Regions from separate parts of the Homo sapiens genome. Here all the other regions are linked to region 4. The links are contacts of gene promoters, found by promoter capture Hi-C in blood cells and fetal thymus (Javierre and others, 2016). All regions are on one chromosome and are shown on one strand. The core of a region is centred on a gene start or on the middle of the fragment in contact, and the rest is flanking DNA. Distances in the headings are between cores, read along the strand shown.

Evidence for each region. Contacts are between HindIII fragments. The CHiCAGO score rates a contact against its expected background, and 5 or more counts as called.
Region 1: a fragment that was not itself captured here is called in contact with the fragment with the promoter of ZNF225 in region 4 in 3 of 17 cell types (non-activated CD4 T cells, naive CD8 T cells and activated CD4 T cells); the score reaches 5.7 in non-activated CD4 T cells.
Region 2: a contact is called between a fragment that was not itself captured here and the fragment with the promoter of ZNF225 in region 4, in 4 of 17 cell types (non-activated CD4 T cells, total CD4 T cells, activated CD4 T cells and 1 more). The highest score is 11.7, in non-activated CD4 T cells.
Region 3: a contact is called between a fragment that was not itself captured here and the fragment with the promoter of ZNF225 in region 4, in 5 of 17 cell types (naive CD8 T cells, total CD8 T cells, total CD4 T cells and 2 more). The highest score is 9.0, in naive CD8 T cells.
Region 5: a fragment that was not itself captured here is called in contact with the fragment with the promoter of ZNF225 in region 4 in 2 of 17 cell types (naive CD8 T cells and non-activated CD4 T cells); the score reaches 8.9 in naive CD8 T cells.
Region 6: a fragment that was not itself captured here is called in contact with the fragment with the promoter of ZNF225 in region 4 in 7 of 17 cell types (non-activated CD4 T cells, naive CD8 T cells, activated CD4 T cells and 4 more); the score reaches 25.3 in non-activated CD4 T cells.
Region 7: a fragment that was not itself captured here is called in contact with the fragment with the promoter of ZNF225 in region 4 in 1 of 17 cell types (activated CD4 T cells); the score reaches 8.0 in activated CD4 T cells.

The regions. Positions count from the first base shown.
Region 1 is chr19:37,364,226-37,367,166 of GRCh38, forward strand. It overlaps ZNF875 (zinc finger protein 875), which reads left to right. Exons shown (of 5, transcript NM_001353803.2): 5 at 1-222. Among named protein-coding and RNA genes, the nearest start is that of ZNF527, 5.4 kb to the right of the region's middle. RefSeq lists a silencer at 1,209-1,409. The HindIII fragment of the contact is 524 bases long and covers 1,027-1,550 here.
Region 2 is chr19:37,381,079-37,383,778 of GRCh38, forward strand. The region is part of intron 4 of ZNF527 (zinc finger protein 527); the gene reads left to right. Among named protein-coding and RNA genes, the nearest start is that of ZNF527, 11 kb to the left of the region's middle. The HindIII fragment of the contact is 4,583 bases long and covers 1-2,700 here.
Region 3 is chr19:37,168,373-37,171,072 of GRCh38, forward strand. It overlaps ZNF585A (zinc finger protein 585A), which reads right to left. Exons shown (of 5, transcript NM_001288800.2): 2 at 1,467-1,682. The coding sequence starts at 1,538. Among named protein-coding and RNA genes, the nearest start is that of ZNF585A, 3.0 kb to the right of the region's middle. The HindIII fragment of the contact is 601 bases long and covers 979-1,579 here.
Region 4 is chr19:44,111,968-44,114,667 of GRCh38, forward strand. It overlaps ZNF225 (zinc finger protein 225), which reads left to right and starts at 1,432. Exons shown (of 5, transcript NM_013362.4): 1 at 1,432-1,602. It overlaps ZNF225-AS1 (ZNF225 and ZNF224 antisense RNA 1), which reads right to left and starts at 1,216. Exons shown (of 2, transcript NR_033341.1): 1 at 855-1,216. RefSeq lists a silencer at 1,143-1,493 and an enhancer at 1,186-1,885. The HindIII fragment of the contact is 4,811 bases long and covers 635-2,700 here.
Region 5 is chr19:37,458,908-37,461,607 of GRCh38, forward strand. All of the region lies in intron 2 of ZNF569 (zinc finger protein 569), which reads right to left. Among named protein-coding and RNA genes, the nearest start is that of ZNF569, 7.2 kb to the right of the region's middle. The HindIII fragment of the contact is 7,320 bases long and covers 1-2,700 here.
Region 6 is chr19:37,475,704-37,478,403 of GRCh38, forward strand. ZNF570 (zinc finger protein 570) reads left to right here. Exons shown (of 5, transcript NM_144694.5): 3 at 178-304; 4 at 636-731. Among named protein-coding and RNA genes, the nearest start is that of ZNF570, 7.7 kb to the left of the region's middle. The HindIII fragment of the contact is 1,736 bases long and covers 480-2,215 here.
Region 7 is chr19:37,683,113-37,685,826 of GRCh38, forward strand. It overlaps the pseudogene ZNF781. Among named protein-coding and RNA genes, the nearest start is that of ZFP30, 29 kb to the left of the region's middle. The HindIII fragment of the contact is 8,365 bases long and covers 1-2,714 here.

The DNA.
Region 1 (2,941 bases), core at 39-2,538, 6.7 Mb before region 4:
AATTGGTTTTTACACTGCTGTGCCCACCTTTTGAGTGGTGCCTTTGCATACTTACAAATCAGTCAACGTGTATTCCCCTATTCTGAGCCCATAAAAGACCCAGACTCAGCTGCAGTGAGGAGAGAAATCACCCTGCTGTGGGGGTTGGGGACCACTCCCTGCATCCCCTCTCCACTGAGAGCTGTTCTTTTGCTCAATAAAATTCTTTTCTACCCATCCTCACCCTTCAATTGTCAGTGTATCCTCATTCTTTTTGGACTCAGGACAAGCGCTCAGAACCACTAAACATGGGTATAAGCTATAATACAGGCAGGCCAAGAGGGCAGGGCACCTCCAGCAGCAGGCCCAGGGCTAAGTGAGATCCAGGCAGAGGGCTGTCGCTGGCTGTGGAGGTCCTCAGTTGGCAATGTGGCTGAGAAAATTCCTGTGTCAGTAACTTGACGGAGAAAGTACTTTTAAATGGGTTGAAATTAGGAAATGAATACTATTCCAGTGTCATTTTACAGGTACACTGGAACATTCCTTCCACTGTACCCTGGATGTTACAGAAACTATTGCGGGAATGAAGGAGGACCAGAGAGACCATGGGGTGAGACAGGAGGATTTATTTATTTATTTTTTTGAGACAGAGTCTCGCTCTGTCACCCAGGCTGGAGTGCAGTGGCGCGATCTCGGCTCACTGCAGGCTCCGCCCCCCAGGTTCACGCCATTCTTCTGCCTCAGCCTCCCGAGGAGCTGGGACTACAAGTGCCTGCCACCTCACCCGGCTAATTTTTTGTATTTTTAGTAGAGATGGGGTTTCACTGTGTTAGCCAGGATGGTCTCGATCTCCTGACCTCATGATCCGCCCGCCTCAGCCTCCCAAAGTGCTGGGATTACAGGCATGAGCCACCGCGCCCAGCCGACAGGAGGATTTATTGAGTGCACTCAGACCCAGAGGATTAACATCCAAAAACTGGGCCCAGAACAAAGACAGCATTTGACTTTTATACACACTTCTCAAAGTGGGTGGGCTAACTTGAAACAAGCTTACAGTGGTGCAAAACGTAGTGGTGCAAAAGCCAGGATACAGAGGCAGAGCAAAGGCAGTTAATCAAATTGTGACAGGTGTATAACTCAGGATTACATATGACCCTTGCTTATGCAGCCCAGATGGCTGTTATCTAGGCTTGCTCAAAAGAGCCTTGCATGGGCTTATCTCATAACCTTTGCTATGGTGCCCAGATGGCTGCAGCCCAGGCCTGCCTCAGGCATGTCTTAAAACTTTCACTGTGCTGCTTAGATAAAACAGAATACTTGAAGTTAACTAGTTACAGAAAACAGGAATCTATAACCTCATAAAACTTGCAGAGCAAGGTACAATCACACGGAGGGAGGTGGGATTCGAGGGGGATCTTTACTTTTTCTTATCCTTATGTTGAGGGAGTGCTGGGAGAGTCTCCAGAGCACATTCCTTCAAGCCTTTGCTTCTTTGATAATGTTATCGAGACCTCGCCTGGGTCCAGGCTTTGCCTGCTACCGCCTTTAGGATGAGTCAGCCTAGTATGGAAAGCTTATTTTTCTCTTTTTAAATTTTATTTTCTTCTTTCTCTAATTTCTGCCTCAAGACAACAATACTAGAGCTTGTCTTTTGATGTCCATCTGTCCTAACTGGGAACAAGAGACTTGGAAGACACCGTGGCTGATTTACTATGTGTTCCCCAGACCATGACCCCACAGAGTCAGCCTCAGGGGAGAGTTTGGGGAATGGTTAATTCATGGAGACAGGGATAGTCCATGGGTAGAAGAGGGTTTTATTATATCTAGGTGACTGCAAGTATCCTAGCTCTAGGTTTTAGGAAGAGGTCCATTTTTAAAAATAACTTTGCTTAAGCCTTTTGGGGTTTTGTCTGGTTTCTGGGTTGAATCCACATTGAAGATATTTTTATTGACTGATGTATTTAGACTAGAAGTGTATTGTTGTTTTATTTATAAAACACACAATATGCAGAAATAGAAAATGAAATTAATTTCTATTCTCCTTTGAATTACCAAACAACATCCTACAGGTAATTCTTGAGTTTAAATATTTCCAACCATTGTAAAATGTACCATTCTTCTGGTTGGGAACATATATTTTTTAATGGCAGTGTTCAACAAATTAACTTTAAATACTAGGTTAGGTCCCAGTTTGTTTGTTTTTTGTTTTTTTTCATGGAACTAGACTGAATGATTCTGAATTTTATTTGGAAAATAAAATTTCCAAGAATCATTAGGAAAATATAGAAACTATATAGTAACATGTCTTGTTCATATATAAGTTTTTAGAATAGCTCTTTAGAACCATATTTTAAAAAACAGAAAAACAAACCCATCCATATATGAGCATTTTGAATGCGATAAAGCAGGATTTCAAATCAGCGTGAAAATGGCAATCGTAAGATTCAGTGTTTGTGTTGTTGGCTATCAATTTAGGGAAAAAATAAATGTAGATTTATTTGTTTATCCAAAGGAGTTACAGTTAGGGCATCACTGTCCAAAATGGTAAGAGATGTTAGGATCTTAATTTTTGTTCAACATCTAAGTGAGTGAGTAGAGTTAGAAGATCTGGTAAAAAATTATGAAGTATTATCCTAGGTGGAGTACTTGGCATGGCTGGCTTTTCCCAGCCCTCCCCCATGGCAATTCATGGGCTGGCTTTCATACTTCTTAACAGAAAAATACTTTGAGGCCGGGTACAGTGTCTCACACCTGTAATCCCAGCACTTTGGGAGGCCAAGGCAGGCAGATCACAAGGTCAGGAGTTTGAGGCCAGCCTGGCCAATATGGTGAAACCCCATCTCTACTAAAAATACAAAAATTAGCCAAGCGTGGTGGTGGGTACCTCTAGTCCCAGCTACTCAGGAGGCTGAGGCGGGAGAATCGCTTGAACCTGGGAGGCGGGGGTTACTGTGAGCTGAGA
Region 2 (2,700 bases), core at 60-2,559, 6.7 Mb before region 4:
CACTATTCAGCATTTATTTTATTATGGCCATTTAGTGCTAGTCATAGCTGTGCTGTGCATATGGCAAGTTACTTTTTCTCTACTCCTTTTTATTTTTCCTGGAGTTAATAATGACTTGGGAATTTTGTTTGTTTGTTTGTTTGTTTTTGCTCAGTTTATATATACATAACCCTAATCCAGTTCCCGACTTACCATCAATTGTCTGAGTCTTTCAAGATACTTGGACATATTAGGTGATCTATCCACTTCATCTTCTTGGAGAAATCTCTCCTGGAATCCTCAGATACGCTTCACTCTACACAAATGGCTCATTATATTTGCATGCACTCAATTTGGATCTATCTGATTTATCTGATATTTTCTCATAATTAGATTGAGGTAGTGCATTTTTGCAAAGAATGTCACAGAAATAATGTTGTATCTCTCTCAGTGCATCATTCCAAAGGATGTATAATATCGATATGTCTTATTATCGGTGATGTTAACTTTGCACACTTAGTGAAGGTAGTGTCTGCTTGGTTTCTCCATTATAAAGTTCTTATTTTTCTATTTGTAGTTAATAAATATCTTGGGGGAGATACTTTGAGATTATTCAGTTTCTTCTGTAATTTTTGCCCATTTATTTTAGCATTTATTGCTGGATCTCTTCAACTATTATTACTGTGGTATTAACCTAATGTTGATTTGTTCCATTTCCCTCTTTTCTTTGTGTATATTAATTGGGATTGTTCTGAAGGAAGAGCTGCTCTTTCTCCTCCATTTACTTATATATTCAATTATATTTATGGATTTTTTTCCTATGAGGTAAATCTAATTTACCTCATAAAATTTAATGACTTCATAAAATTTAAATGGATTTATTTTTGGATTTATGGATTTTTATTTCTATGAAGTAAATCCAATGAATCATTATGTTTCTCAAATCGTTCCAGCTTTGAATGTTGGAATCTCCTTCACATTGGTTCCTTTGACCTTCTGACATGCCCCCATGCATTTTTTGGGCACGTCCTTCCTTCTGGCACAAGGTATTCCAGGTTCTCTTATTTTCCTTGCCCCAGCCTTGAATCAACCACTTCTCCAAGGAGCCCTCATTGCTTTATTGGGAAATGGTGTTTAGAAACCAAGCTAGGTATGCTCTAGGCTACTGGGATATCACTCTTTCTGGCCCTGACAGCAGCTAAAGCTAGGAAACAGATAGATAGATAGGTAGATAGATAGATAGATAGATAGATAGATAGATAGATAGATAGATATTTACACACACACCCCTATATTTATTTCTGCCTCTTTTTTTCCCATTTTTTATTACCTCTATCTTTTTATATACTAAAACTATCAGTTTATATTAATAACTTGATTTCTAGTCCTGCTTTACAGGGTTTATTGTAGCCTTCCTCCTTGACTTATTTGTAATTTCTTTTTCTGATAATGAGAAAAAATATATTTACCTATTTGTTCAATTTTAGTATACACATAAAGTAGTTTCAGAATTTCTAACTTACTTCTCTGTGAGAAACAAATTTACCAACTAGATTTAGGTATTTGTATATAGTACTTTTTGTTTTAGTCTTATAGTGTCCAGTCAAAATACTATTTCCAAAATTACTTAGGTTGGTTATTTCAGGTCCATTTGTTACTGTTTTTGTTTGAGATGGAGTCTCGCTCTGTCACCAGGCTGGAGTGCAGTGGGCAATCTCGGCTCACTGCAAGCTCCGCCTCCCGGGTTCAAGTGATTCTCCTGCCTCAGCCTCCCGGGTAGCTGTGACTACAGGCGCATGCCACCACGCCTGGCTAATTTTTGTATTTTTAGTAGAGACAGGGTTTCACCATGTTGGCCAGGATGGTCTCAATCTCTTGACCTCGTGATCCGTGCCAGCCTTGGCCTCCCAAAGTGCTGGGATTACAGTTATGAGCCACCATGCCCGGCCGTATATACGTAGTTTTATAAGGAATTGCTACATTCCCCTCCAGAAAAGTTGTCTGCTTAGTTTTTTTCCTGCTGTAACAAATTAGCACACATTTAGTGGCTTAATCCAACACAAATTTATTGTAGCTCTGGAGGTCAGAAGTAAAAAGTAGGCCTTACAGAGCTAAAATCAAGATGTCAGCAGCCTATATTCCTTCCTAAAACTGTATGGGAGAATGCGTTTCCTTGATTTTTTATGCTTTTTTTTTGAGATGGAGCCTTGCTCTGTCACCCAGGCTGGAGTGCAATGGCACGATCTTGGCTCACTGCAACCTCTGCCTTCCAGGTACAAGGGATTTTCCTGCCTCAGCCTCCCGAGTAGCTGGGATTACAGGTGCTCACCATCATGCCCAGATAATTTTTGTAATTTTAGTAGAGACAGGGTTTCGCCATGTTGGCCAGGTTGATCTCAAACTCCTGACCTCAGGTGATCCACCCTTCTTGGCCTCCCAATGTGCTGGGATTATACAGGTGTGAGCTACCACACCCAGCTGATTTTTTTTTTTTTTTTGAGACAGAGTTTTTCTCTTGTTGTCCAGGCTGGAGTGCAGTGGCGCAATCTTGGCTCACTGCAATCTCCACCTCCTGGGTTCAAGCGATTCTCCTGTATCAGCCTCCCAAGTAGCTGGGACTACAGGTGCGTACCACCACACCCAGTTAATTGTTGTATTTTTAGTAGAGACCGGGTTTCACCATATTGGCCAGGCTGGTCTCGAACTCCTGACCTTGTGATC
Region 3 (2,700 bases), core at 29-2,528, 6.9 Mb before region 4:
GCTACACAAAAATAATCTCTTGGAACACCAACAGCAAACAAGACCAATCTCTGACCACCATGGTGGAAGACAAAACCAAGACCACTCTGTCATTATACTTGAGCACAGACAAAAATCACAATCTTCTTCAAACCATAAAAATCTCCTTACTCTGCATAAGGAAAGTGACTGCCAATTATACCTTTACCAATTATAGCTTTTGCTTCAATCTACCCTTCATATTTTCTAGGTAAAAATGATTAAGATACCCAATCATAAAATTTCCCAATAGGAACAGAAGTAGAGGTTCAGTGAAATTCAGCTAGAAGATTCTTATTACCTGTGACTAAAACCAGAAATGAAATTCTACTACAACTTACACATGCAACAGAAAGGAAAGACATGAGAAGAATGCCTACTGCTACATAGTTCATAATATGAGCTGTATTTTACCAAACAAATATTTAAAAAGCAATGTGTGAAAATTTAGTCTACTATGGCACCTTTTGTGAAATAGAAAGAAAAAAATGTGTACTTGTTTTTACTTGTTTATAGAACTAAGCAATCAAAGAAAAAGAATAAAATCGGTCCTGTATGTTGAGAAACATGGGGGTAGGTGGGGAACGGAGGTGGGTGAATCACAGATCCATGTTTCCCCTGAATTTGTTTCCTATAACACTTTTCAGGGTGTGTTGCCTTTAAATGCATTTCTAATTGTTTTTAATTTTTATTTTTTACTATTATTCCCATTTTACCAATATTATTTTTGAACGAAGTGTATATATTCCCTATTCAGAAAACTAAACTTTCCTAATACACTATCACAATATCTCCAGAGGCATAAGAAATAAAATTATACCCATGAAATAAGAACAAGATGCTAATCAAAAAGAATATTTAGAAAATAAATTACAGTTATTAAAAATTAAAACGTTGAATTAAAATGTTGATAGTGGTAACGAGAAACTCAAAAGAAGGGCTGGAAGGCAAATGTGACAAAGCTTCCTGAAAAAGAGAGCAGCAAAGAAATAGAAAACAGTAGAGGGAAAAAAATGGAGAACCAATATCCGAAAAACAGAAATGTAAAAAAAAAAAAAAAAGAAAGAAAGAAAATATTTGTGTTTGAGGAGGCAGTTTAGGAAGAAACAAGAGAAATACTTTGAAAATCCCACAGAAAAGTGACTTCTAACCAGGAAAATCTATCCACAGCCCAAAGATCAATGTAGTGTGATGACAAAATAAACAACAGTTTTTCTTAATAGTCCACCTCTCCACTGTCGCACAGATGGCCTCCAGAGACGAAGACATTACCCACATGTTGCTCATTCTCAACAGGAAGATCAAGATTTGTTTCAGGAGCAGCAGGTCTAGAGTCCAGCTGCTTCCTGTGGCCCAGCTCCCTCCCTCAGTCATGAGGTTCTAGTGACAGACCAGAGATACCTAGTCCTGGATTGAATTCCCACCCCCCTGGGACTCCTCCTTCTCACCTCATAGGAGCTGCCATGATCCTCTGGAGCCAGGGCTGAGGATTTCTGAGGTGAGGTCCAATTAGCTGGCATGGCCACACTGGGTCTCAACCCTTTTTCTGTAGGGTGTCTGAAGCTTGGCAGTCATCTGTGAACTCAAGCAGAGCTGCTCTGAAGAGATGGGCTGGAGTCTAGAGGAAAATCTGGCCCAGGGGCTCCCCAGAGACACCCAGAAACCTGGAAAGACAATGTTCCCATAGTCAGTCATTTCACATTCAACACATAAGCACTTCCTGGATATATCAAGGTGCAGGTCCCTGAGCTAGAAACCAAAGCAGTGGTTCTCAAATGGGTATGCATTCAAGTTACCTGGAGGACCTGTTAAATGAAACACAGTTAAAAATTCTCAGCCTACTCCACAGTTTCTGATTCAGTAGGTCTAAAGTAGAACCCAAAAAGTTTCGTTTCTAACTGGTGCCCAGGAAACGCTGATGCTGTCAGTACAGGGACCACACTTTGAGAACCAGCGCTGAGGAGAACATAAAATTTAACAAAATCTGTGATAGGTATTAGTTACGGTGAAATATGGGAAAAGTCATGAGAGATGGAGTAATGTTACTGCAGATTTGAACTGCAGCTCTGACACTTTTCACCTATGAGAACAGAAGTTTCTTCACTTTCTTTTGAGACGGAGTCTCGCTCTGTCGCCAGGCTGGAGTGCAGTGGTGCGATCTCGGCTCACTGCAAGCTCTGCCTCCCAGGTTCAAGCAATTCTCCTGCCTCAGCCTCCCAAGTAGCTGGGATTACAGGCATGCGCCACCATGTCCAGCTAATTTTTGGTAAAGACGAGGTTTCACCATGTTGGCCAGGATGGTCTGGATCTCCTGACCTCCTGATCCGCTCGCCTCTGCCTCCCAAAGTGCTGGGATTACAGGCGTGAGCCACTGCGCCCAGCCATTTCTTCACTTTTAATTTCAGAAATGAGGATGAAAATGCTTATCTCAAAGTTACAAAAATTAAATGAGATAATACTTGTAAAGTACTCAACACCTCCCAGGCACACAAAAATCATACAATACATATCAGCGATTACCATGCATTATCAGATATTAAAACAATATAAAAACAATGTAATAAAAACAAGTAAAACAATAAATATACCAGACAATATTGATCTATATATGTGATAAAAGTGGTATTCAAATGAGTGTGCATAAGACATTCATTGCATAAATGGCAGTGATATAATGCAGTG
Region 4 (2,700 bases), core at 182-2,681:
GTTTAATAGGAAGAAGAGAAAGAGAAACGGGTTCCTCCATAGAGGAAGGGGTCTCCGAGCGGAAAAGGGTCGGCTGGCAGTGAATGTGCTGAGTTTTACAGACCAGTTTGAGGAGGCAGTGTCTGATTTACATAGGGGTCATAGATTGGTTCGATCAGTTATGACGTTTACATAGTGCGTGGGGAAGGCTGGTCGCCCCACCCTAATCTTCTTATGCAAATAGGCTTCCCAGTTGATTGGCCCATCTTGCCAGCTTCTTACTGTGCACGTGGCTGACAAAGAGAAGGGAAGATGGAGCCGCCATCTTTAACATGATTGGCACAACTGCTGGTATCTATGTCTGCGGCAGCTGGATTTTACAGGCTGCTCTTCCTTAGGAAGGGAAATAATTTGGGGCTGCTTTTCATTAAAAAGAAAAGCCTTACCGAGGGCTCCCATACCCTATCTGCCTAAGTGATGGCTTCTTAACTCGTATATATTAACAACACTGTATTCGTACTAGATGCCATTGCCATTGAATTATGTGCCTTAAAATAATTTTGTTTTGTGAATTACACCTCAAAAATATTTTTTAAATAATAAAACGACCACGTTAAAAACGTTTTGCATAGCGAAAAACAAGTCAAAGGAAAAAAGCTTTTTGGTTGAGCAATATTTGATACAATGTTAATATGAGTATGTAAATAATACTTAACGGAGGGGAAAAAACTAAACACTCAATAGAAATGTGGGCAAACTATTTGACCAATTCACAAAGACTATAATAGTGGCAACGGAAAATATGCACGGATGTTCCACTTTATTTACAAAAGAACAAATACAAATTAAAACTACATTTAGAAACCATTTCTTACCATTAGATTAGCAAAACTTAACTCCTCGAAGACTGTGTCTTCTCGCTTGTTCCCTTTCCAATAACACTCCTGTTATCATTGGAGGCGTTTAGACTTCAGAAATTCCTGTCTATTCAGTATTTTCTGTCCTGGACCAGGGAGAGAGAAGGACGACTCTCAGGATAACAGTTCACATTCCCCACTAGGCAGGCGCTCGTGGCTTTGGGATTCGTTCCCAGTGGGCACCTCGGAGTGGCAACGCTTCCCCCTGAAGAATGAGATTTTGAGCGTTTTTCCTTCAGCATTCGGAGGAGTGTAATCCAAATGCTCTGTGGAGTCGTACACACTGGCTCCAGAAGGAGGATACAAGCAATTCTGGGAATGGTAGTCCAGACGCTCAGTGGAGTAGCGGTCAGCTTGGCTCCGGCAGGCGAATCAGGGGATTTCTGGGAAATGTAGTCCAGACGCTCAGTGGAGTCTCGGTCAATTTGACTCCGGCAGGTGGATCCCAGGGAATTCTGGGAAGTGTAGTCCAGACGCTCGGGGTCGTCGCGGTCAGTTTGTCTCAGGAATTCTGGGAAGTGGAGTCCAGACACTCAGTGGAGTAGCGGGCCACTTCCGCTCCGTTACTGTGAGGTTGCTGCAGTTTTGTCCCTGGTAGTTTGGGTCAGTTCCGCGAGACCCTTCTGAATTTCCTGGACCTACGCATTGGATCCTTAACGAACTGGTGATCGAATTAGGGGAAAAGAAACCTCGTCGGAGAGCAGAGGTTTGGCGGAGCGGGGCCGCTGTTTTCGTTCTCGTCAGTGGAGCCTTCTTGGGCTTGGGGCTCTCCTCGCGTCCCCGGGGTGTTTGGGACTTGGTCGGGTCGCGTCTCGCCTGGTTTTAGGGTCTCCGGGGCTCTGAGCTCGCCCACTCGGCCTCCCTGCACCCCACGCGCGTGGCCACTTCCTCGCGATAAAACGCTGGGATGTTACTTAATCTCCTTGGGTCTCCCGTTACAGTTCTTTAAGATGGGGAGTTTAGGACCATCCTAATAGAATCGTTTTGGGAACTGAAAGCGGTAACACAAATGAGAGCCTTAAAGCAGCCCCTGTCACTTGGTGACTGGTGGTCTCTTGTTAATTTCCCACGAAGCCTGTCAGGTCCCCGGGTGGGGTGAAACTCCAGCTGCAGGGGCACCGGCCCTTCTCCCTGATTCCTGCAAGACGCTGGGTGATCCCGGACGCCTTCTGACCTCTCTTTTAGGAAGGCGAGGGTTGCATCCACTTCCAGGAGGGGAGAGGAGCATTTAACTTTTATGGGGCACGGCGACCACGGTCAGAGTGTTTCACAGCCTTCTCCTTACCCAGCCCGACCTTTCCAAAAGAGCTGCAGGGAGGGACTTCTTGGCTTCTGAGGGCAAAGCTCTACGTGAGTGATCCTTGGCTTTTTTCTTTGACAGAGATGCTCACCCCAACCGAGAGTGTATAGGATGTGTCTTCGGGCATGGGTGTTGCTTTCAGTTGTCATGTTTTTCTAGTCTTTAATCTTGAAAGATAGCATAGCTTTCATCGTTTTTTCTTGGTATTTTATCCTTGTTATTTTTGAAGAGTATAGATGAAGTTATTTTGGTCAAAGATGTTCATTTGGAGTTTTTCTGATGTATTTCACGTTTAACTTCAAAATATGCATTTTTTGCTGGAATACCACAGAAGTGGTAAATCTCTCTCTCTCTTTTTTTTTCTTGAGACGGAGTTTCGCTCTTGTCGCCCAGGCTGTAGTGCATGGCACGATCTCAGCTCATTGCAACATCCACCTCCTGGGTTCAAGCTATTCTCCTGCCTCAGCCTCCCAAGTAGCTGGGATTACAGGTGCCTGCCACCAC
Region 5 (2,700 bases), core at 71-2,570, 6.7 Mb before region 4:
ACAAACTCAACACAGTAGAGGAAACAATCAGTGAACCTGAAAATAGAAACTTCAAAAGAAACTTCCCAAACTAAAATGCACAGAGGAAAAAGAATGAAAAACAAAAGAGAACATCCAAACCATGGGAGAACATCCAAACCATGGGACAATATCAAAACATGTATCTATTAAACAGACATCTATTTTCCCAATTAGAAAACCAAAAGGAGAAAAAAGAGAACACAGATGAAATATTGTAAGTAATAATGTCCATGAATGTTTCAAATTAGTGACACACACCAAACCATAGGCTGAGGAAGCGCAAAGAACACTAAGCAAGATAAATACCAAAAAAAACCACACGTGTATATCATATTGAAACTGAAAAAACAACAACAAAAAAAAACAAAGAAAAGATAGTCAAGGAACCCAGAGAAAAGTAACACCTTACCTATAAAACAACACTGATAAAAATTACAGCAGACTTCTTGTCAGAAACTATATAAACAAGAAGAAAGTGGTGTGAAATATCTAAAGCATTAAATGAAAAAGAGCCACCAACCTAGAATTCTCTCTATCCAGGGAAATTATCCTTCAAAGTTGAAGGAGAAATGAAGACTTTCATTTCTAACAAAAACTAAGGGAATTCATCACCAGCAGACCTACCCTGTAAGAAATGTTAAAAAGTTATTTAGGCAGAAGAAAAACAATATAGGTCAGAAACATGGATTTACATAAAGAAAGGAAGAGCACCAGAGACAAAATCATGAAGGTAAGATAAAATCTTTTGGTTCTTTTATTAGTAATTGATCTAAAAGATAAATGTTTGTTAAAGGCTATAATGATAACAATGTATTAGGTGATTACAGCACACGGATAAGTGAAATGAATGACAGGGACATCACAAGTGACATAACAACGGAGAAGAAGGGGGAACTGGGAATACTGTTGTAAAGTTCCTGCACTACATATGAAGCAGTATAGCATTTTCAAAAGTGAATTTAGATTACTTAAAAATACACATTGAAAACTCTAGGGTGACACTAAAATTTTTTAAAAGAAGTATAAATGATAAAGTAAACAGGAGATAAAATGAAATAATATAAAATGCTCAATGAAAACCGTAGTAATCAGACAAAGGAGGGGAGAAGAGAAGAAACAAAACAAAGAAATAAAAAAATTTTCTATTTGCATACGAAGCAAATGGAAAACAGCTAGGAAGATGGTAGTGAGCTAGGAAGATGGTAGTGTTTTTTTGTTTGTTTGTTTGTTTTTGAGACAGAGTTTCACTGGAGACTCCAGCCCAGGCTGGAGTGCAGTGGAACGATCTTGGCTGACTGCAATCTCTGTCTCCTGGGTTCAAGCAATTCTCCTGCCTCAGCCTCAACTGGGATTACAGGCATGCACCACTATGCCTGGCTAATTTTTGTATTTTTAGTAGAGACAGGGTTTCACCATGTTGGCCAGGTTGGTCCTAAACTCCTGACCTCAGGTGATTCGCCTGCCTTGGCCTCCCAAAGTGCTGGGATTACACGCATGAGCCACCACGCCTGGCCAATGGTAGATGTTAATCCAACTACAAAAATAATCACACCAAGTGTAAATGGTCCAAACACAGCAATTAGAAGACAGATTGTCAGAGTGCATTTAAAAAAAAAAAAACAACTATATATGTCTATAAGAAACCCACTTTAACATTCAAGTTACAAGTAAAGAGATGAAGCTAGGCGTGGTAGCGTGCACCTGTAGTCCAAGCTATTTGCAGGGGCTGAGGCAGAAGTTTGCTTGAACATAGGAGTTCAAAGCTGCAGTGTGCCATGACTGCATCTGTGAATAGTCACTGCACTCTAGCCTGGGCAATACAGTGATACCCTGTCTCAAAAAAAAAAAAAAGTCAAGGGATGAGACTGGTGGCCTATCCTTCCCTAGAAATGAAAAAAACAAACAAAAGGCAAAACCTGTCTGAACCAGATTTTCAGAAATTCTGGGAGATAGTCAAAGGTTGCACCCAAGCAAACACTTAACAAAAAAATTTGAGCTTCAAAAAGAAAATAAGTGCAGTGATTTAAAACACATCAAATATGCTAAAAATGATGAATATATAATGGTGATAATAATAAAAACAACCCACTAGGAGATGCCAGGGAACCACTCCAATAACTCAAAATCATATAAAGGGAAATAATCCATTTATTCTGCCTTTTCTGTACAAACTGTACCTAAGGGTGAACAAAGAGTTGACGAGGAAAATTTTTTCTTTAGGAAAATATTCTAGCTAGTAAACGAAGTAATGACAGAATTAGAATATCGCCATTTTGTAGCCCTTACTGAAATAATGGGTCTAGTTAGTAATCATCCATGTTTTCTAAAACCGGTATAGTGGTAAGAAGAACTGTTCTATTTTTAAAACATATGAAAAATATCCTCTTTTTTTTTTTTTTTTTGACAGAGTCTCACTCTGTCAGGCTGGAGTACAATGGCGTGATCTTGGCTCACTGCAACTTCCGCCTCCTGGGTTCAAGCGATTCTCCTGCCTCAGGCTCCAGAGTAGCTGGGACTACAGGTGTGCGCCATCATGCCCAGCGAATTTTTGTATTTTTAGTAGAGACAGGGTTTCACCATGTTGGTCAGGATGGTCTTGATCTCTTGATCTCGCAATGTGCCCACTATGGCCTCCCAAAGTGCTGGGATTACAGGCATGAGCCACCATGCCCAGCCCAT
Region 6 (2,700 bases), core at 98-2,597, 6.6 Mb before region 4:
GAAGCAGTGCTATTTTATACTGGAATAATCTGAGATATACAAAGGCCCTGAGTACAAATATGATAACATGGTTACATATTTGAGGATGTAATATCAGAGAGAGCCCAGTGTGCCTAGGGCAGAGGAAATGAGGTGAATATGGTAAGAGATAAGGTTCTTCCATTTATTTCATTTCAGGAGTTGGTGACCTTCAGAGATGTGGCTGTAGACTTCTCCCAAGAGGAATGGGATTGTCTGGATTCTTCTCAAAGACATCTGTACAGTAATGTGATGCTAGAGAACTACAGGATCTTGGTATCACTGGGTAAGGATATCTTCTTGCAAAACTGAGCTTCTGCTCAAAAGGGGCTCTTTGCTACCACTATTGTGAATTTTTGGATAATATCTGCAAAATTTGGCTGAATGTCTGCTGCCTATGCCAAACAAATGGCTTAGTGTTTGTGGATTTGGCAGTGAACATATTCTTGGCCTGTGCCTGAAGCTTCATCTTCCTTATCCTTCTAATACATGTCCTTTACACATTTCTCTTTTTGCTTACTGTAAACTCCCTTTTCCCTGATGAGCTAAGGATTGAATGTGAGTTCTGGAATATCCACAGCATGACAAAACTCTACTTTTTTTTTTCGTATTTGCAGGACTTTGCTTTTCCAAACCAAGTGTGATATTATTGTTGGAACAAGGAAAAGCACCCTGGATGGTGAAGAGAGAGCTGACAAAAGGCTTGTGCTCAGGTTAGTGAAGAGGAAATTGGCAAAAATCTTTGCACGTGACAGCTCAGCTTGACTCAAAGGTATCACCTCTTCACTCTTCAGGCTTCCAAATTCTTCTCAAATGTTCTAGGTTTTCATAAAAATTTGGGGCCATTTAGGATGTTCTCCCACATTTGTTATTTTTAATTATTTCCCTTCTCTTACTTTCCTATCTCCTTTCTAACAAGTCCCATCCCCTCTCAGTTTCATAAGCCTCTCAGTCTTTAAAAAATCTTGTAGTAGTCTTATAAACTTTTTTTTTTTTTTTTTTTTTTGTGACAGAGTCTCGCTCTGTCACCCAGGCTGGAGTGCAGTGGTGCAGTCTCGGCTCACTGCAAGCTCCGCCTCCCGGGTTCAAGCAATTCTCCTGATTCAGCCTTCCCAGGAGCTGGAATTACAGGCACATGCCACCACGCCCAGCTAATTTTTGTATTTTTAGTAGAGACAGGGTTTCTCCATGTTAGGCTGGTCTCAAACTCCTGACCTCACGTGATCTGCCTGCCTCAGCCTTCCAAAGTGCTGGCATTACAGGCATGAACCACTGTGCCTGGCCTCTTATAAATTTTTGAGCTCTACAGAGCATCAGAAGTGTAGGCAGCCTTGGGGACTGAGTCCTCAACCTGAGGGATCTGATGCTATCTCCAGGTAGACAGTATCAAAATAGAGCTGAGGTAGAGGACACCCACTGCAGAATTCATTGCTTGCTTGTTGGTGGAGAGAAACCCCCACATTCAGTCACAGAAGCCTTCTGTGTTTATTGTTGTGGTGCGAGAGAAAAGGAAAAACAGGTTGCATGTGTGATTTTTCCTAAGGTGCTCATTGTGGGGGAGGTTGTCGTGTGTGTGTGTGTGTGTGTGTGTGTGTGTGTGTGTGTGTGTGTATTTGTAACTTTTTTTTTTTTTTTTGAGACAGAGTCTCGCTCTGTTGCCCAGGCTGGAGTACAGTGGCATGATCTCGGCTCACTGCAACCTCTGCCTCCTGGGTTCAAGTGATTCTCCTGCCTCAGCCTCCCCAGTAACTGGAACTACAGGCACCCACCACCACGCCTGGCTAATTTTTTTGTATTTTTAGTAGAGACGAGGTTTCACCATGTTGGCCACGCTGGTCTCCAACTCCTGATCTCAGGTGATCCGCCAGCCTCAGCCTTCCAAAGTGCTGGGATTACAGACGTGAGCCACTGCACCCAGCCTGTAGCTTATGTTTTTGATACTTTAAGAAACCTTTCTATGTTCTGAGTTCATATAGATATCTGAAAATAGTCTTTTAAAGATTGTCCTTTTATATGTAGGTCCATAATCCAATTGGAACTTATTTTTGAGGATTATTTTAAATAAGAATTTAATTTCTGTATCTTATGGAAAACCAAAGGTCCCAGATATTTTTTGAATAAGTGTTCCCTCTGCCTGTTTTTCTGAATGTTACCTCTTAATATACCAGGTTTTAGTCTATATATGGGTTTGACTTTAAGCTTTATTCAGTTTCATTGATCTCTGTTTCCTTATACCAGTACCACACTGTCTTAATAAAAATAGTTTATTAGAAGGATAATTATCTGCTAGGGAAAATCTCTACAGCTTGTTTAAATTCTTTAGAATTTCTTGTTTGCCCTTTGGACATCAATATAAAGTTTAGGGTCAACTTGTAAATTTCTATCAGAAAACAACAAAATGCTGTTAACTTTTGATTCAAATTTTAACTTTTGATTCAAATTTTATTTATTCTGTAATCAATTCTGGAAATTTTAAAAATTCATTAACATGGTATAGCTCTCCATTTATTTAGGTTTTTTCACTTTTTTCAGTGTTTTATAATTTTCTCCAAAAAAGGCTTTGCACATCTTCTGTTAGATTAAATTGTAAACATTAAACATATTAGTTTTGTTGCTGTGTTAAATGTTATCTATATTTTCTGTTTGTTGCTCATATATAGAAATGAAATTAACTTCGTATGC
Region 7 (2,714 bases), core at 99-2,598, 6.4 Mb before region 4:
CTTACTGACTCACCTAGAGCAACTTTCAGTCCTGCAAGCTCCATTCATGGTAAATGCCCTGTACAGGTGTACCATTGTTTACTTTTTATACCTTTTTTTTTTTTTTTTTTTGAGATGGAGTCTTGCTCTTGTCACCCAGTCTGGAGTGCAATGGTACAATCTTGGCTCACTGCAACCTCCGCCACCCAGGTTCAAGCGATTCTCCTGCCTCAGCCTCCCGAGTAGCTGGGATTACAGGCACCTGCCACCACACCCAGCTAATTTTTGTATTTTTAGTAGAGACGGGGTTTCGCCACGTTGGCCAGGCTGGTCTCGAACTCCTGACCTCATGATCCACCTGCCTTGGCCTCCCAAAGTGTTGGGATTACAGGCGTGAGCCACTGCGCCTGGCCTATACCATATTTTTACTGTACCTTTTCTGTATTTAGATATATTTAGATACATAAAATCATTGTGTTGCAACTATCTACAGTATTCAGTACAGTAAAATTCTATACAGGCTGGTGGCCTAGGAGCTGCAGGCTATACTATATAGCCTGGGTGTGTAGTAGGCTATCCCATCTAGGTGTATGTAAGTCCACCCTCTGATGTTCACACAATGATGACATCACCTAACAACAACATTACCTAACAACAGAAGAATGTATCCCTGTTCTTAGGTGACGTCTGACTGTATATCTAACATTAAAAGTTTATTTACAAAAATAAACTTTATTTACAAAAAAACTTTATTTAAAAATTACATGGCATAAGGCCGGGTGGAGTGGCTCACGTCTGTAATCCCAGCACTTTGGGAGGCCAAGGTGGGCGGATCACCTGAGGTTAGGAGTTCAAGACCAGCCTGGCCAACATGGTGAAACCCTGTCTCTACTAAAAATAGAAAAAAAATTAGCCAGGCATGGTGATGGGTGCCTGTAATCCCAGCTATTCGGGCGGTTGAGGCTAGGGGAATTGCTTGAATCCAGCCAGTGGACGTTGCAGTGAGCCGAGATTGCACCACTGTACTCCAGCCTGGACGACAGAGAAAGACTTAGTCTCAAAAAAAAAAAAAATTACATGGCATAACGCTTACGACACAAAATCTCTTTATCTCCAGAGTTTCTATGTATTCAAGATGGTTTTCTCATAAAACAGCAGAGGTTACTGTGGTCAGAATGTCACCTTCCCATGAGCCCACAAGGAAAAGCATCTGTGTTTCGCTAGTTCCTGTCACACTTTAATCTATTTCTGTATAGATTATATGTCCCTTGCTAGATTGAGAGAAACTTAACTAGGGCTTTCTAATCACTTCATTTCTCCCAAGTATTAGCACAGAATCATTGATATTCCTGGCATTAATAAATGCTTAATATTTTACCTAAAAATTCTATACTTGGGAAGTTATCAATAAACGAAACCTAGAAAAGTGCAAAATTTAGTGAACACAAGAATATATCACAGAACAGTTACATGACAGATGACTGCACTACCATTAACAGCTATGACCAAACATTTTAAGTAAAAAGGAAAGATATACGTGACGAATTACTACGTAAGGGGGCAGGTCTTTAAAAGAACCTATAATTTGGCTGGGAGTGGTGGCTCATGCCTGTAATCCCAGCATTTTGGGAGGCTGAGGCGGGTGGATCACGAGATCAGGAGATCGAGACTATCCTGGCTAACACGGTGAAACCCCGTCTCTACTAAAAATAAAAAAAAATTAGCCGGGTGTGGTGGCGGGCACCTGTAGTCCCAGCCACTCCGGAGGCTGAGGCAGGAGAATGGCGTGAACCCAGGAGGCGGAGGTTGCAATGAGCTGAGATAGCACCACTGCACTCCAGCCTGGGCAACAGAGCGAGACTCCATCTCAAAAAAAAGAAAAAAAAAATAGAGATTGAGACCATCTTGGCCAACATGGTGAAACCCTGTCTCTACTACAAATACAAAAATTAGCTGGGTGTGGTGGCATGCGCCTGTAGCCCCAGCTACTCGGGAGGCTGAGGCAGGAGAATTGCTTCAGCCTGGGAGGTGGAGGTTGCAGTGAGATCGCGCCATTACACTCCAGCCTGGTGACAGAGTGAGACTCCGTCTCAAAAAAAAAAAAAACAACTATAATTTTAGAAGAGCATATAACACAATAATTTAAAATGCAGCTCAGAGGCCAGATGCGTTGGCTCATGCCTATAATCCCAGAACTTTGGGAGGCCAAGGGGGGCAGATCGTTTGAGCCCAAGAGTTCGAGACCAGCCTGGGCAACATAGTGAGGCCCTGTCTCTACAAAAAAAATACAAAAATTAGCCATGTGCAGTGGTGCACACCTGTAGTCTTAGCTACTCGGGAGGCTGAGGTAGAAGTATCACTTGAACACAGGAGGTCGAGGCTGCAGTGAGCTGTGATTGTACCACTGCATTCTAGCCTGGGTAACAGAGCAAGACCCTGTCTCAAAAAAATAAATAAAATAAAATAAAATGCAGCTATGCTTATAGATGCCTGTGATGTGACTCTTGATAAGTGGATTTTTAGAAAGTCACCAAATGAAGAAACAGAGAGCACACCGGAGAAGAGCTCAAGTGAAGCCAGACTGCCTGGTTTGCACTCCAGTTCTGCTGTGCACCAGCTTGGGCAAGTTACTTCACATCTTTGTGTTAAATATTCTAGCACATGAATGGAGAAGAATGTTTCTAGTTCTTTCCATTTGGGAGGCACAGATTGTTTGTAAGGTCATATCTATGGTT